Linked DNA regions of Homo sapiens: all the other regions are linked to region 1. Evidence: promoter capture Hi-C in 16 types of primary human blood cells and fetal thymus (Javierre and others, 2016). All regions are on one chromosome and are shown on one strand. The core of a region is centred on a gene start or on the middle of the fragment in contact, and the rest is flanking DNA. Distances in the headings are between cores, read along the strand shown.

Region 1 (2,624 bases), core at 48-2,547:
CATGTTAACATGATAATAATGCTTAAATTTGAGGCAGACGGGCACTGTGGCTCATGCCTGTAATCCCAGCACTTTGGGAGGCCAAGGTAGGAGGGTCACTTGGGCCCATGAGTTCAAGACCAGCCTGGGCAACATGGCGAAACCCCGTCTCATTAAATAAAATAAAATTAAATAAAATCTCATTAAATAAATAATTTAGGGCAGATTTGCCATGCCATAATCAGTGTATTAGGTTTAAATGTTTTACTATCTTTTACTTGATTAAGAAAATTTATCACGTATGGTACCATTCCATAAAATTTCTCCTTAAAATTTTTAATCCCAGCACTTTAAAGTAGCAAACTTAAGTTTGCTCACATTCTTTCCATGCTGTGGTTGAAGCTAATGCTTTCAGCTCCCAGGTTGGCAGGGAAATTCCTCTCACTTCAATCAAAAACAATTCTTGGAAAAAATAACACATTCCACTATTAGCTTCAGACACCGACCTGCTGCTAACTGTAGGGTTTTTCCTAGACGCCACACCCCAGCCTTACATAAAGGAGAAAGCTTAGAGTTCTTTTAAAATAGCAATGCACTCACAATTCATTATTTTTCCCTATCACAGATGGCTGAAAATAAACAGCAGAGAATTTGGATTCAAAACTGTTGATTTAGGCAGAGAACCAGCCAACCCCTTCCGGCTCCCCAGAGCAAATGTTAAATGACTGCCCGTTCTAGTAGAAACTCTATAGTCTCTCAAATCTGATTTAAAAGCGAATATCTGTTTCCTACCTATAGAGTTTAGCAAAAAGGCAGTTCACTTTTAGTTGAAAGAGCATTTTGTAAAACAACATCTCATAAAATTACTACGCTATACTGTACCAATCTCGCTTTTGTATAATCTGCTTTCAAAGGAATGAACAGCAACAAAAAAGTCACTTGATTTAGAAATATGCATTACAAAAAACTTTCCATGAAAATACATAATGAAAACATCTAGGAAACAGGAGAGAATTCAGTAATAATCCTGAATGACTTACCAGCAGGCCACCTCCTACGATGCCAGAAAAGAACCACACGAAGCGGCTGAGGTGGTTTTCGGAGGCATACTTTGTTTCCCCATTGGGAAAGTAAAGCAAAATATTAGCCGCGATGCACAGGAGGGCGAGCCCCACCAGAGAATGTCCGATGCATCGTGCACACTTCCCATAGCACATGGTGGTCTGCTAGGTTTTCTCCCCCTTCTCTTTGTCTTCAGCTCAGTGATACCCCAAATTAGATGAAAGTGTGCCCTTCTGGTGGAGAAAGCAAACACCACTCTCAGCCCATTCCTGCTACCTCTTAAATACTGCGATTCTTAGTCACTGAGGGGATGAGGTACTTTGCTTTCATTGGTCCTAATGGCAGGCTCTGGCTGTGGTGCGAAGAGGCAGGGGGAATGTCCCGCCCTTCAGACGAAATCCTTGGGACAGGCAAAACCAGGGGCAGGATGTGAGAAACAGCCTCAGTCATAGGCAACAGGGAAAATGATTAATCTTGAACAAGGCATTGACTGTGCAACTCCTCCACAAGATAAAGAATCAACAGGAAAGCCTAACATGACTTTCCAGTAACTGCCAAGTGTCCGAGATGCAACAGCCCTGGTTGAGGCTTTGAAAGACAGTGAGCTGTGCCCCTGCTCCATGCAGCTGTCTGGACAGCTTCCAATCTGAGAGCTCTGTGTTCATTTCTACCTTTGTGCTGATTTAATTTACAACCTGGGGCAAATCTCCTGAGCTCATTTCCTTGTCTATTAAATACAAGGTGTCTGAGACGTCTCCCATGGATTTGAGAAGGCTGTTGGGAAAACTACAGAGCAAACTTCTTTACTCTGCCTACAGCAAGCTCTGCAGGATGGATTTCAGTGTTCAGCGTCCCTGGACATCTGCCTCTAAAACAAATCTGCACCACAACAGAGGTGGCATCAGTCAACACAAAGGGCTCAGGTGCTTTTTAAAAATTATTGAGTGTTGCTGTCAGGAAAAGCAATGCCAGGAAGGGCCAAGGAAGGCCTAAAGCATGGGACAAAAATAAAAAGAGGAAGAAGAGAGGGGGAGGAAGAGAATGGGAGAGAAGGAAAGAGGAAAGGAGGAAGGAAGAGAGGAAGGAAAGAAGAGAAGGAGGGAGAGAAGGAGAGAGGGAAAAAGGGAGGAAGGGAGGGAGGGAGGAAGGAAGGAAGGAAAAAAGGAAGGAAGGATGGGGGGAGGGAAGGAAGGAGGGAGAGGGAGAAAAAAATAAGACAAAGGGACTTGGCAAGCAGAGTGGAGAAACAAGGTTCAGAGAAACAGAACTGGCTAGGAGTGTCAGAACCCACACAGAGGTAAACAGATGGTTTACCCAGCCAGATCCTGAGACCAGCTTCCACAGGCTCCCCACACAGGGCAGAGAAAGGGTGTTAGACTAACTTTCTAGGTGGTTACCTTGCAGAAGGAGGGGCTGGGCACTGAATAAATTTATGCCTTGAACAGCAGATTGCACCAGCCAGTGGATGGTGGTGGGAGGTGGACAGGGTGGCCGGGTGGGGCCAGGCCTGGAGGGCCTTGTCACCAGGACAAGATAGAGAGTACAGAAAATAGAAAAGGACCAAGGTAGGGAGGCATTAGCTT
Region 2 (2,624 bases), core at 82-2,581, 420 kb before region 1:
TCATGTCTTACATGGATGGCAGCAGGCAAAGAGAGCTTATGCAGGGGAACTCCTCTTTTTAAATCCATCAGATCTCGTGAGACTTATTCAGTATCACGAAAACAGCACAGGAAAGACTTGCCCCCATGATTCAATTACCTCTCACCAGGTCCCTCCCACAAGTTCCACAGGTTCCCTTCCCACTTGGGAATTCAAGACAAGATTTGAATGGGGGCACAGCCAAACCATATCATTGCCTAATTGTATTTTTCTTCTTGCTGGATTATTAAAGAGCCTCAGTATCATCTTTAAATGTTATTAGCTTAATAAGAATGAGAATGTGAGACTGTCAACATTAAATCAAAGAAGTGTTTTGCTTCGCTTTGTTTCATGTGATGGGACTATATCTAGAAGGCGTGATAAAAGGAGGGTAGCCCATTTAATTATACATCATAAATTGTTACCAGACATTTGGAATTAGGAAAAGTACATCAGGAATTACAAGGGCCAGCACATGTGAAAAAGGCTTAATTGAGACCATGAATTTGGAAATAGCTAAAGAGGCAGTTTATCTTACTGCTATTATATCTTCTAGTGTTGTTATGCTCTGGATTGGCTTGAATCACATAAAAATGGTTCTAAAAGGGATATGGAATCCATGTTTTATGAGTAGAGATTAAGTTATTTATTTGATATTCCATCACATAAATTTGGGAGCTAGACAAATCTGCATTCAAATCCCAGATCTCCCATTTGCTGTGAGAATCTGGCCAAGAAAGTTCATCCACCTCTAAAATAAGCATAAGAACACCAACCTCCAAGTTTTTCGTAAAAATTAACTTATGTAAGATACATCATACACATAGCAGTTTGTAGCACATATTAAGCTTTCAGCAGGTGGTAATGATTACCACCACTAAAATAATAGTAATAACATTTTCACCCCTCTTTGCTTTCTCAAACACTTCTCTAGATTCTAATCAGACAAACTTACCTTGAAAGCAGATATCAGCAACCTGGAATATTGTGGCAAAGGCAGCCCAGAAATTGTATCAGACATTGTACTTCCAGTGTCTTCCACTAACGTGCAAAAGTGTGCTCAGTGTATCCTGGGCCACCCTCCTCTTCATATCACCCTCCTACCACCGGGTCTCCTGAGTCCTCCTCTCCTTCCAGCAAACCCATCCATGCATACCATCCTCTGCCCTGCCCCAGTGTTACTCCTTCTCTCACCCTCCCCTCTTTAATCAAAACTCTCTTTCCTTCAGGATGGTTATATTCTTTGTGTGCTAGGACAAAAGTACCAGCAGTTTCCTCATCAGCCAACTGAGAGAGTAAATGAAAAGCTCCCAACTGCGCCAAGCCCTCATGTGGCCTCAGTAAATGTGAGTGCTCATCCCTCTTGTGTAAGATAGGAGATCCGTACAGGTTTACCTCTAAAACCCTGGGATTACACAGAAATTTAGAGCAAAGTATGAAGCCAGGGTAGTTTGTATGCTGGCAGAAAAGTTTTCTTAACCACTTTCTCCCCAACCCACACACCTCAACTAATCTTTATTTGGTAGACTATGATATATTTAAAGATATCTGAAGAAACTGTGTCACCACCCAGCCAACACAAAAAAGCCAAAACACTATCAAAATCCTCACCAGCCCACTTCCGAATAGTGGCTGGCCCCTGCTCCCCATACAAATATTGCTAGAGTATTTAAAAATAGAGTTAGCACCTGTTAAGGATGTTTGTGGACAGTCCAAGAAAACGTAGATCAGCTTCATCCTGGAAGGACCCTTGACCAAAAGCTGTGACCTCAAGCATGACAAGCTTTTTTGAGCAGAACTAAGAGCAAGATAGGCACCCCGTAACTAAGAGCAGCGTGGGTACCCCAGGGTAAGTATTCTGGTAACATTTGCTGAATTCAGGCTGGAGCAGTGACCTGATCGAGAGGTGGCATTTGCCATTAAGGCAGATTTGGAATTTGATGGGCTGGTTTGTCAAGCAAAGGACCATCCATGGGACTGATGGCTCCGTAAGAACCTAGTAATGGAATTATGTGCCTGGGATACACAGCTGGCAATTATATTCTCCACTTCAGGCAGCAATAAAGATAAAGTGCTTTATAATGTATTCATTCATTTCAATACAGTCAGTAGTGATGTTAGAATGGGGTTCCTATCAAGAAAAGGCAGAACTGCATTTGAGAAGGAAAAATGTGCTTTCTTAAAGAGATTATTTTAGAAAACACATGAATGTACATCAGAAATTTCATTAAATAAGTCAATTTGGCAGGTGATCCTAATGGGCTACTGGAAAAGGGGAATTAGAGCAATTGAAACAGCGGAAACAAATGAGCTACAGGTGTGCCTTCTTGTTGTCTCTGTTCTCATTTGGATTATTACAGGCTATGTCAAATACATTTTGAAAAGTTTGTAGTGTATCATCCCAATAATTATATCTGGAGTGTCTAGAAAGCATTGACTAGTTATATGATGGGGAGCTTAAGAGAGGAAATGTGGTTTCTGGGTTGTCCTCTCATAGGCTCAGCAGCTTCTTGATACTTCCCCTTATCCCAAGGCTGTCCTCCCCTCCTCTACCCAGGAGGAGATGAGTCACACAGGGAAAGAAAAGGACTCCTAATGCAAGAGGA
Region 3 (2,624 bases), core at 38-2,537, 410 kb after region 1:
TACCTCTCAAACCTTTATCAATTCATTTATTTAATACCTATTTATGTACAGCCTACTATATATCTTATCTAGTACTATTCTAAGCACTGGGTGAAAACAGTGGACAAAACTTAAGCAATCGTTTCCATGATAACACAGGTTAAAATGAAGGGGGCAAAAGTGATAGTGCCTCTGCATGTTGTACAAAAACATACACTTTTGCAGTGCCTCATGCTATGGTTTATAGGAACACAGTGAACCGCAACACCATCAGCAATAAATCGTCAGGACTGGCTCCTGTATTAATAGAAATTGGAGGTATATACCATAGAAAATATTGATTATGGCTTCCGTAAGAGTTCTTTTCCAAAGAAGGAAAAGTTAATACAATGTTCTTTATTATTATTATTATTATTTATTACATTTTAAGTTCTAGGGTACATGTGCACAACGTGCAGGTTTGTTACATATGTATACATGTGCCATGTTGGTGTGCTGCACCCATTAACTCGTCATTTACATTAGGTATATCTCCTAATGCTGTCCTTCCCCCTTCCCCCAACCCCACGACAGGCCGCAGTGTGTGATGTTCCCCACCCTGTGTCCAAGTGTTCTCATTGTTCAGTTCCTACCTATGAGTGAGAACATGTGGTGTTTGGTTTTCTATCCTTGCCATAGTTTGCTGAGAATGATGGTTTCCAGCTTCATCCATGTCCCTACAAAGGACATGAACTCATCCTTTTTTATGGCAGCATAGTATTCCATGGTGTATATGTGCCACATTTTCTTAATCCAGTCTATCACTGATGGACATTTGGGTTGGTTCCAAGTCTTTACTGTTGTGAATAGTGCTGCAATAAACATACATGTGCATGTGTCTTTATAGCAGCATGATTGATAATCCTTTGTATATATACCCAGTAAAGAGATGGCTGGGTCAAATGGTATTTCCAGTTCTAGATCCTTGAGGAATCTCCATACTGTCTTCCACAATGATTGAACTAGTTTACAGTCCCACCAACAGTGTAAAAGTGTTCTTATTTCTCCACATCCTCTCCAGCACCTGTTGTTTCCTGACTTTTTAATGATCACCGTTCTAACTGGTGTGAGATGGTATCTCATTGTGGTTTTGATTTGCATTTCTCTGATGGCCAGTGATGATGAGCTTTTATTTATTTATTTATTTATTTATTTTTTGAGACAGAGTCTCGCTTTTTCGCCCAGGCCAGAGTGCAGTGGTGCTATCTCGGCTCACTGCAAGCTCCACCTCCTGAGTTCACACCATTCTCCTGCCTCAGCCTCCCCGGTAGCTGGGACTACAGGCACCCGCCAACGCGCCCGGCTAATTTTTTGTACTTTTAGTAGAAACGGGGTTTCACTGTGTTAGCCAGGATGGTCTCGAGCTCCTGACCTCATGATCTACCCACCTCGACCTCCCAAAGTGCTGGGATTACAGGCGTGAGCCACCGCTCCCAGCCTGATGAGCATTTTTTCATGTGTCTTTTGGCTGCATAAATGTCTTCTTTTGAGAAGCATCTGTTCATGTCCTTTGCCCACTTTTTGATGGGGTTGTTTGATTTTTTCTTGCAAATTTGTTTAAGTTCTTTGTAGATTCTGGATATTAGCCATTTGTCAGATGGGTAGATTGTAAAAATTTTCTCCAATTCTGTAGGTTGCCTCTTCACTCTGATGGTAGTTTCTTTTGCTGTGCAGAAACTCTTTGGTTTAATTAGATCCCATTTATCAATTTTGGCTTTTGTTGCCATTGCTTTTGGTGTTTTAGTCATGAAGTCCTTGCCCATGCCTATGTCCCGAATGGTATTGCCTAGGTTTTCTTCTAGTGTTTTTATGGTTTTAGGTCTAACATTTAAGTCTTTAATCCATCTTGAATTAATTTTTGTATAAGGTGTAAGGAAGTTTCAACTTTCTACTTTGGCTAGCCAGTTTTCCCAGCACCATTTATTAAATAGGGAATGCTTTCCCCATTTCTTGTTTTTGTCAGGTTTGTCAAAGATCAGATGGTTGTCAATGTGTGATATTATTTCTGAGGGCTCTGTCTTGTTCCATTGGTCTATATATCTGTTTTTGTACCAGTACCATGCTGTTTTGGTTACTTTAGCCTTATAGTATAGTTTGAAGTCAGGTAGCATGATGCCTCCAGCTTTGTTCTTTTGGCTTAGGATCATCTTGGCAATGCGGGCTCTTTTTTGGTTCCATATGAACTTTAAACTAGTTTTTTCCAATTCTGTGAAGAAAGTCACTGGTAGCTTGATTGGGATGGCATTGAATCTATAAATTACCTTGGGCTGTATGGCCATTTTCACAATATTGATTCTTCCTATCCATGAGCATGGAATGTTCTTCCATTTGTTTGTGTCCTCTTTTATTTCGTTGAGCAGTGGTTTGTAGTTCTCCTTGAAGAGGTCCTTCACATCCCTTGTAAGTTGGATTCCTAGGTATTTTATTCTCTTTGTAGCAATTGTGAATGGGAATTCACTCATGATTTGGCTCTCTGTCTGTTATAGGTGTATAGGAATACTCGTGATTTTTGCACATTGATTTTGTATCCTGAGACTTTGCTGAAGTTGCTTATTAGCTTAAGGAGATTTTGGGCTGAGACAATGGGGTTTTCTAAATATACAATC
Region 4 (2,624 bases), core at 56-2,555, 370 kb after region 1:
TTCCAACATGAAGTCAAATTTGAGAACAAGTGCACTATAATACATATTCATATGCTCATTTGCATATCCATGTGGGCTTTTACAACATATTCTGCCTTCTCTACTAAGAATATTTACCCTAATTTTCTCTATTCATTCATCCTTCTGAAATTTCATTTCCTTTTGCTGGAAGCTTTCTTGGATCACGCCAGCACATACACACAACTACACGTGTTGTTGTTGTTGTTGTTGTTTTTGTTTTAAACAGTTGTCATCTTCATTCATATAATTATATTCTTTATTCCCCATCAAGAACCTTATTTTATAACTACCTTTAATTACTAGTTATTTTGAGAATGCCTAATATCCCTAACCAAGGTGATACGATCTTTTCCAGCTGAGAAAGTATCTTACACTTCTTTTGTGTCTCAAAGCATTTAGCACAGCTCTAATCAGCAAATAGATGGCATTCAATACACATCTACTAACTCATCTCTCTCTGCTTAATAAAGGATTATAAGCAATGGTCTGAATACACCCTTTCGTTTCTGTGACTTTAAAATCAACTGAAAGATGAATCTCACAAAAAGAATATTGTGAGAGAAGCCAGGTACAAAAGAATATTTACTGAGTCATTCCATATATACAAAGTTAAAAGACAGGTAAATGTAATTTGTGTTAAAAGTCAGGATGCTGGTTACCTTTAGAAAGGAGTGAAGGGGCAGTAATTAGGAGGCAAGGAGGATGCTTCTGGGGTGTGAGTCACAGTTAAATGCACCATGTGATAATTCATTGAGCGGTACATTGACCTGTGCACTTTTCTACATCTGTTAAATTTAAACAGAAAAGTTTTTAAACATCTAGGCACCAACCTAAAAAATCTATATAACCATCTCCTTTTCGAAAATAACCAATTTCTTACAAACTTTGCAAATTAAACTGATTTGAACACACTGAAAATAAAAGAAAATGAATGATTTGTGAAATGGCTTAAAAATGAACATTAAAAAAACAAAGTTTCAAACCGCATCTTAGTTAAGGTGGTAAAGAATACAATAAACAGGACACAAACCTAAAATAATTCTTATATTCTATGTTAAGTTAATTTTAAAAATGCTATACCTGTACATCTAGTCGCCATTCAAGGTTATGATAACTGGGAAGGCTTGGTGCCAATTCACTCAGAATCGTTCTGATCTCTTTTCTGTTGTCCAGATAAAGCTGAAGCAACAATTTGTTTAATTCTTCAGAGAATCCCAGAACAAAAACAGAGTCTTGGAAATCCAGTTCAGAAATCTAAGTGAATTGAGTTTAAAAGAACATCAAAATTTATCTTTGTCTAGCTAAAATAATTGAAATACACAAAAGAATATGATATCCTCTAATTTATTCTGTCTAGTAAAAGAAACAGCATTCCTTAACCACTGACCACCATTCCAAAATCTGTGTTACCAATACATAAAAGTACTTTACTAAAGTATAAAATGGAAAAAATTGTTAAGATGCCCAGTTTCCCTTCCTGTCCTTCATCAAGCCAGATACTGCTGATACGCAAACAAAATACTGATACAGTCTCCCTCCTCTTATGTATCTTCTTAAGATACATATATGGTTTAACAACATGCAGAATTAGAGGTACTTCTATACTAGCTATTTATACTAGCAAGAGGTATTCATATCAGCAGATGATATGATTTTTATTTTTTAGGTATGTCTTCAAAAAATCAATTATAAACCATTAACAACATTATTAAAACACACAGGTACCTGCCAGGACTATGATGTAGAGTACACCAGACCGTTCTTAAGAATCCAGCCAACACAAAACAGTCCAGAAAATCCCTTACCATGAGCTTTGAGCTCTCAGTGAGGAGATACGTTAATCCTTCCACACCATGCTGGACAGTGTCACTACTCACATTGAGTTTTCCTGAGAAAGAAAAGTAAAAACGAGCAAATAAATTACTACTGTAGTATTTATCTTGTTCATATTTGTATTTAAAAATAAACACTATTCATTATTACATGTTTTCAAACACTGCATGAAAAACAGTAAGTTGGCCAGAGGCTCCTGCTCCTTGTCATTCCACTCCCAGCCAAATGCCTTTGGTATTTCCCACCAAGTAACCTTAACAAAATGCAGAACTGTGGAGACTAGTATCAGGTGCGTAGCCCTTCTCTTGAATACGTAGCTCCTTCAAGTCTGGCAGAAGAGGAACTCGACAGGGATTGACTTAATCCCAGAGACTGCCTCTTACCCAGGGGTAAAACAACACTTTTTTTTTTTTTTTTAGCAAAAGCGGATATCTGAACAACTAATAATGATAACCAAATACTTGCAATTTACAGTTGACCCAGCTATTCCACAGACTTTGGTATATTTATACAAAACACTTTTCAGTATTTCTGAAAGTAAGGTGGTATTATGTACATTTTACCATGAGAAAACTGATTTAATAGAAGCTTTAACAATCTCACAGCTACTTAAGGGACGGGCAGGATTTGCACCCTGACTGAAGAGCTCTGCTGGTTTTATTCTACTACAATCGGAACAAGACCCTAGGACTCGCAATAATCCGTTTCTCTCCCGGGAGACAGGGAATGGCTCGCAACCGCCCTAGAAGCCTGCGGAGCCTTCCCCTTTC
Region 5 (2,624 bases), core at 93-2,592, 350 kb after region 1:
ATCTTGCATTTCTAGATGGTAAATTAAATTCTGCCTATGCTATTTTATGCCTCTTTTTTCTTTTTTAAAAATGATTTTACTAGTACAATTGGAGGAAAAGGAGTCTGGTGAGGGTGGCTTGGAGAATAACTGGTTGGTCACCAGGACGGGATAGCACCTCTGGTTCTAGTGAGATTTATGGAAGGGGCTTTGTTCTGGAATGTGGTACTCAGCTTTATTAACTCAGAAACTTAAATGTTAGCACACACAGACACAATGGGACTCTAAGGGCTGATGAATGCCAATTAATTAACTTGCAATGGGAAACATAACGTAGCAAGCCTCAAATCCAAGTTTGCTGGTTAGCACATTTTCTGTCTATGGGAAACTTAAGAAGCCAAATTATAACCAGAAGGGTAGTTGGTGACAGCCAGTTCTACAACAGTGAGTTTTCAACTAGGGAGGGTTGCCCTTCTCTGGGGGATAGGCAGAAGGAAGGGGACTTTTTTTTTTTTTGAAACAGAGTCTTGCTCTGTCGCCCAGGCTGGAGTGCAGTGGCGCGATCTTGGCTCACTGCAACCTCTGCCTTCCAGGTTTAAGAGATTCTCCTGGGCCGGGCGCGGTGGCTCACGCCTGTAATCCCAGCACTTTGGGAGGCCAAGGCGGGTGGATCATGAGGTCAGGAGATCGAGACCATCCTGGCTAACAAGGTGAAACCCCGTCTCTACTAAAAATACAAAAAATTAGCCGGGCGCGGTGGCGGGCGCCTGTAGTCCCAGCTACTCGGGAGGCTGAGGCAGGAGAATGGCGTGAACCCGGGAAGCGGAGCTTGCAGTGAGCCGAGATTGCGCCACTGCAGTCCGCAGTCCCGCCTGGGCGACAGAGCGAGACTCCGTCTCAAAAAAAAAAAAAAAAAAAAAAAAAAAAGAGATTCTCCTGCCTCAGCCTCCTGAGTAGCTGGGACTACAGGCGCATGCCACACCAGCACACCTGGCTAATTTTTGTGTTTTTAGTAGAGATGGGGTTTCACCATGTTGGTCAGGCTCGTCTCGAACCCCTGACCTCGTGATCTGCCCACCTCAGCCTCCCAAAATGCTGGAATTACAGGTGTGAGCCACCGCACCCAGCCTGGAAGGGGATTTTAGGGGAGTGTGTGTGTGTGTGTGTGTGTGTGTGTGTGTGTGGTATTTTTCTTTTAGCATATATAATTAGAAAAGGCATATCCAATGTTATAATTCAACAATATTTGGGGGGGAAATTTAAAACTCTTGCGTTCATAACAAAAATTGTAAAAAATAAACCTTAACAAAATGTTCCTGGCTGGTGACTCAGCTGGGGGCAGGGGGCAGGGTGGGAATCTACAAATCAAACTCTCTCTGGAGAATCTAAGATTTTTCATTTTTCAAAATGAAGCAAGAAAACATTGTTTACTGAGGCACTAAACAAAAGCCATACGTGGGGCAACTTAAGTTTGCAGGATCCAAATCAATTTTCCGTTCTCAAGTTCTTCTCACTAAACAGTGTTATGATTAATCTAATCATGCTTAGTTTTTTAGTAGTCATTAACTGTGGGAATTGATGTAGAAATCTGGGTTACTTATAAAGTATGTACTTTATAGTACTGTACTATGTACTATAAAGTAGTGCTACAGTTTTGTGACCAAATTCTGCAGCCAGCCAAAACCACTGTATGGGTAAAGCAGACATTGATAGTCTCAGCATTGATTTATCTCCCTTCTTCCTTTCTAAAAGATCCCACTTTCATTTGGGGATTGCTGTGTTTCCTGGGAAGAGGACTCTACTCCTACTATATTCCAACCTCTTAAATGCAGCAATTGGTTGGTAACCTAAACCAGTCCAATCAAAGTGAATCTGAAAGACTTTTCTTATGATGTTAATGACAAAGACGGGCTCATTTTCCTGGTGCCTTTAGTAGCCACCTATGGCCACAAGAAGAGTCTAAATTAGGAGAAAGAAAACGAAGACAGGAAAGCGAAGCAGAGAGATACTGGGGCATTGGGGCCATCTCTAGGCCACTGGATCATGTTTGCCTGAACCAATACTACCTCTGGACTTGACAGTTATTTGTACCAACAAACTCTTTTTTAATTGTTCCAGCTATTTTTAGTTGTAATTGAAAGCACGTGGGTGGATCAGGGTTCTGCTGAATCTGGACTGTTTGATTTTCTTGTTCTTCGACCGGCTTGAATATCAGTCATTGAAGCAAGTCATAGAGAAATGGCTGTAGTAAAACTGTCATGTTCTTAATTTTTGCTGTACATCAGAATCACGTGGAGAGCTTTAACAGATGCCACGCCAGTTAAACCAGAATCTATAAAGTTGGGACTCAGGAATCAGAATTTTAAAAAATTCTCAAGTAATTCCAGTGAGCAGCCTCGGCTGAGAACCACTGGTCTAAGTATCTTGTTCTGTCCATTCAGTGGGGTCTGCAGACAACATGTCCTAAATATGTCTTTCCATTAAAGAAAAAAAAAAAGCTGACATGTAACTTGTGAGGTTAATGCAAACCATACTGATGTGACAGAAAAGCAAAATGTGTGCAAATTTTGTACTCTATTCCATATTATAATCCTTTCTCTCTCGCTCCCTTTCACCCTTCAACATTTAATAGAAACTTACCATGT

What was found. The method cuts DNA at HindIII sites, captures the fragments that hold promoters and counts their contacts. A CHiCAGO score of 5 or more calls a contact.
Region 2: a contact is called between a fragment that was not itself captured here and the fragment with the promoter of TM4SF1 in region 1, in 1 of 17 cell types (megakaryocytes). The highest score is 5.2, in megakaryocytes.
Region 3: a fragment that was not itself captured here is called in contact with the fragment with the promoter of TM4SF1 in region 1 in 2 of 17 cell types (M2 macrophages and M1 macrophages); the score reaches 6.1 in M2 macrophages.
Region 4: a fragment that was not itself captured here is called in contact with the fragment with the promoter of TM4SF1 in region 1 in 2 of 17 cell types (M1 macrophages and M0 macrophages); the score reaches 6.7 in M1 macrophages.
Region 5: a fragment that was not itself captured here is called in contact with the fragment with the promoter of TM4SF1 in region 1 in 3 of 17 cell types (M0 macrophages, M1 macrophages and M2 macrophages); the score reaches 9.5 in M0 macrophages.

Annotation. Positions count from the first base shown.
Region 1 is chr3:149,376,352-149,378,975 of GRCh38, forward strand. It overlaps TM4SF1 (transmembrane 4 L six family member 1), which reads right to left and starts at 1,298. Exons shown (of 5, transcript NM_014220.3): 1 at 1,020-1,298. The coding sequence starts at 1,196. TM4SF1-AS1 (TM4SF1 antisense RNA 1) reads left to right here and starts at 1,427. Exons shown (of 2, transcript NR_109810.1): 1 at 1,427-1,964. The HindIII fragment of the contact is 5,350 bases long and covers 545-2,624 here.
Region 2 is chr3:148,960,103-148,962,726 of GRCh38, forward strand. No RefSeq gene overlaps it. Among named protein-coding and RNA genes, the nearest start is that of GYG1, 30 kb to the right of the region's middle. The HindIII fragment of the contact is 935 bases long and covers 865-1,799 here.
Region 3 is chr3:149,784,878-149,787,501 of GRCh38, forward strand. The region is part of intron 2 of ANKUB1 (ankyrin repeat and ubiquitin domain containing 1); the gene reads right to left. Among named protein-coding and RNA genes, the nearest start is that of ANKUB1, 6.4 kb to the right of the region's middle. The HindIII fragment of the contact is 4,947 bases long and covers 1-2,624 here.
Region 4 is chr3:149,749,577-149,752,200 of GRCh38, forward strand. COMMD2 (COMM domain containing 2) reads right to left here. Exons shown (of 5, transcript NM_016094.4): 3 at 1,827-1,909; 4 at 1,102-1,275. Among named protein-coding and RNA genes, the nearest start is that of COMMD2, 1.6 kb to the right of the region's middle. The HindIII fragment of the contact is 2,270 bases long and covers 171-2,440 here.
Region 5 is chr3:149,728,038-149,730,661 of GRCh38, forward strand. No RefSeq gene overlaps it. Among named protein-coding and RNA genes, the nearest start is that of COMMD2, 23 kb to the right of the region's middle. The HindIII fragment of the contact is 3,060 bases long and covers 1-2,624 here.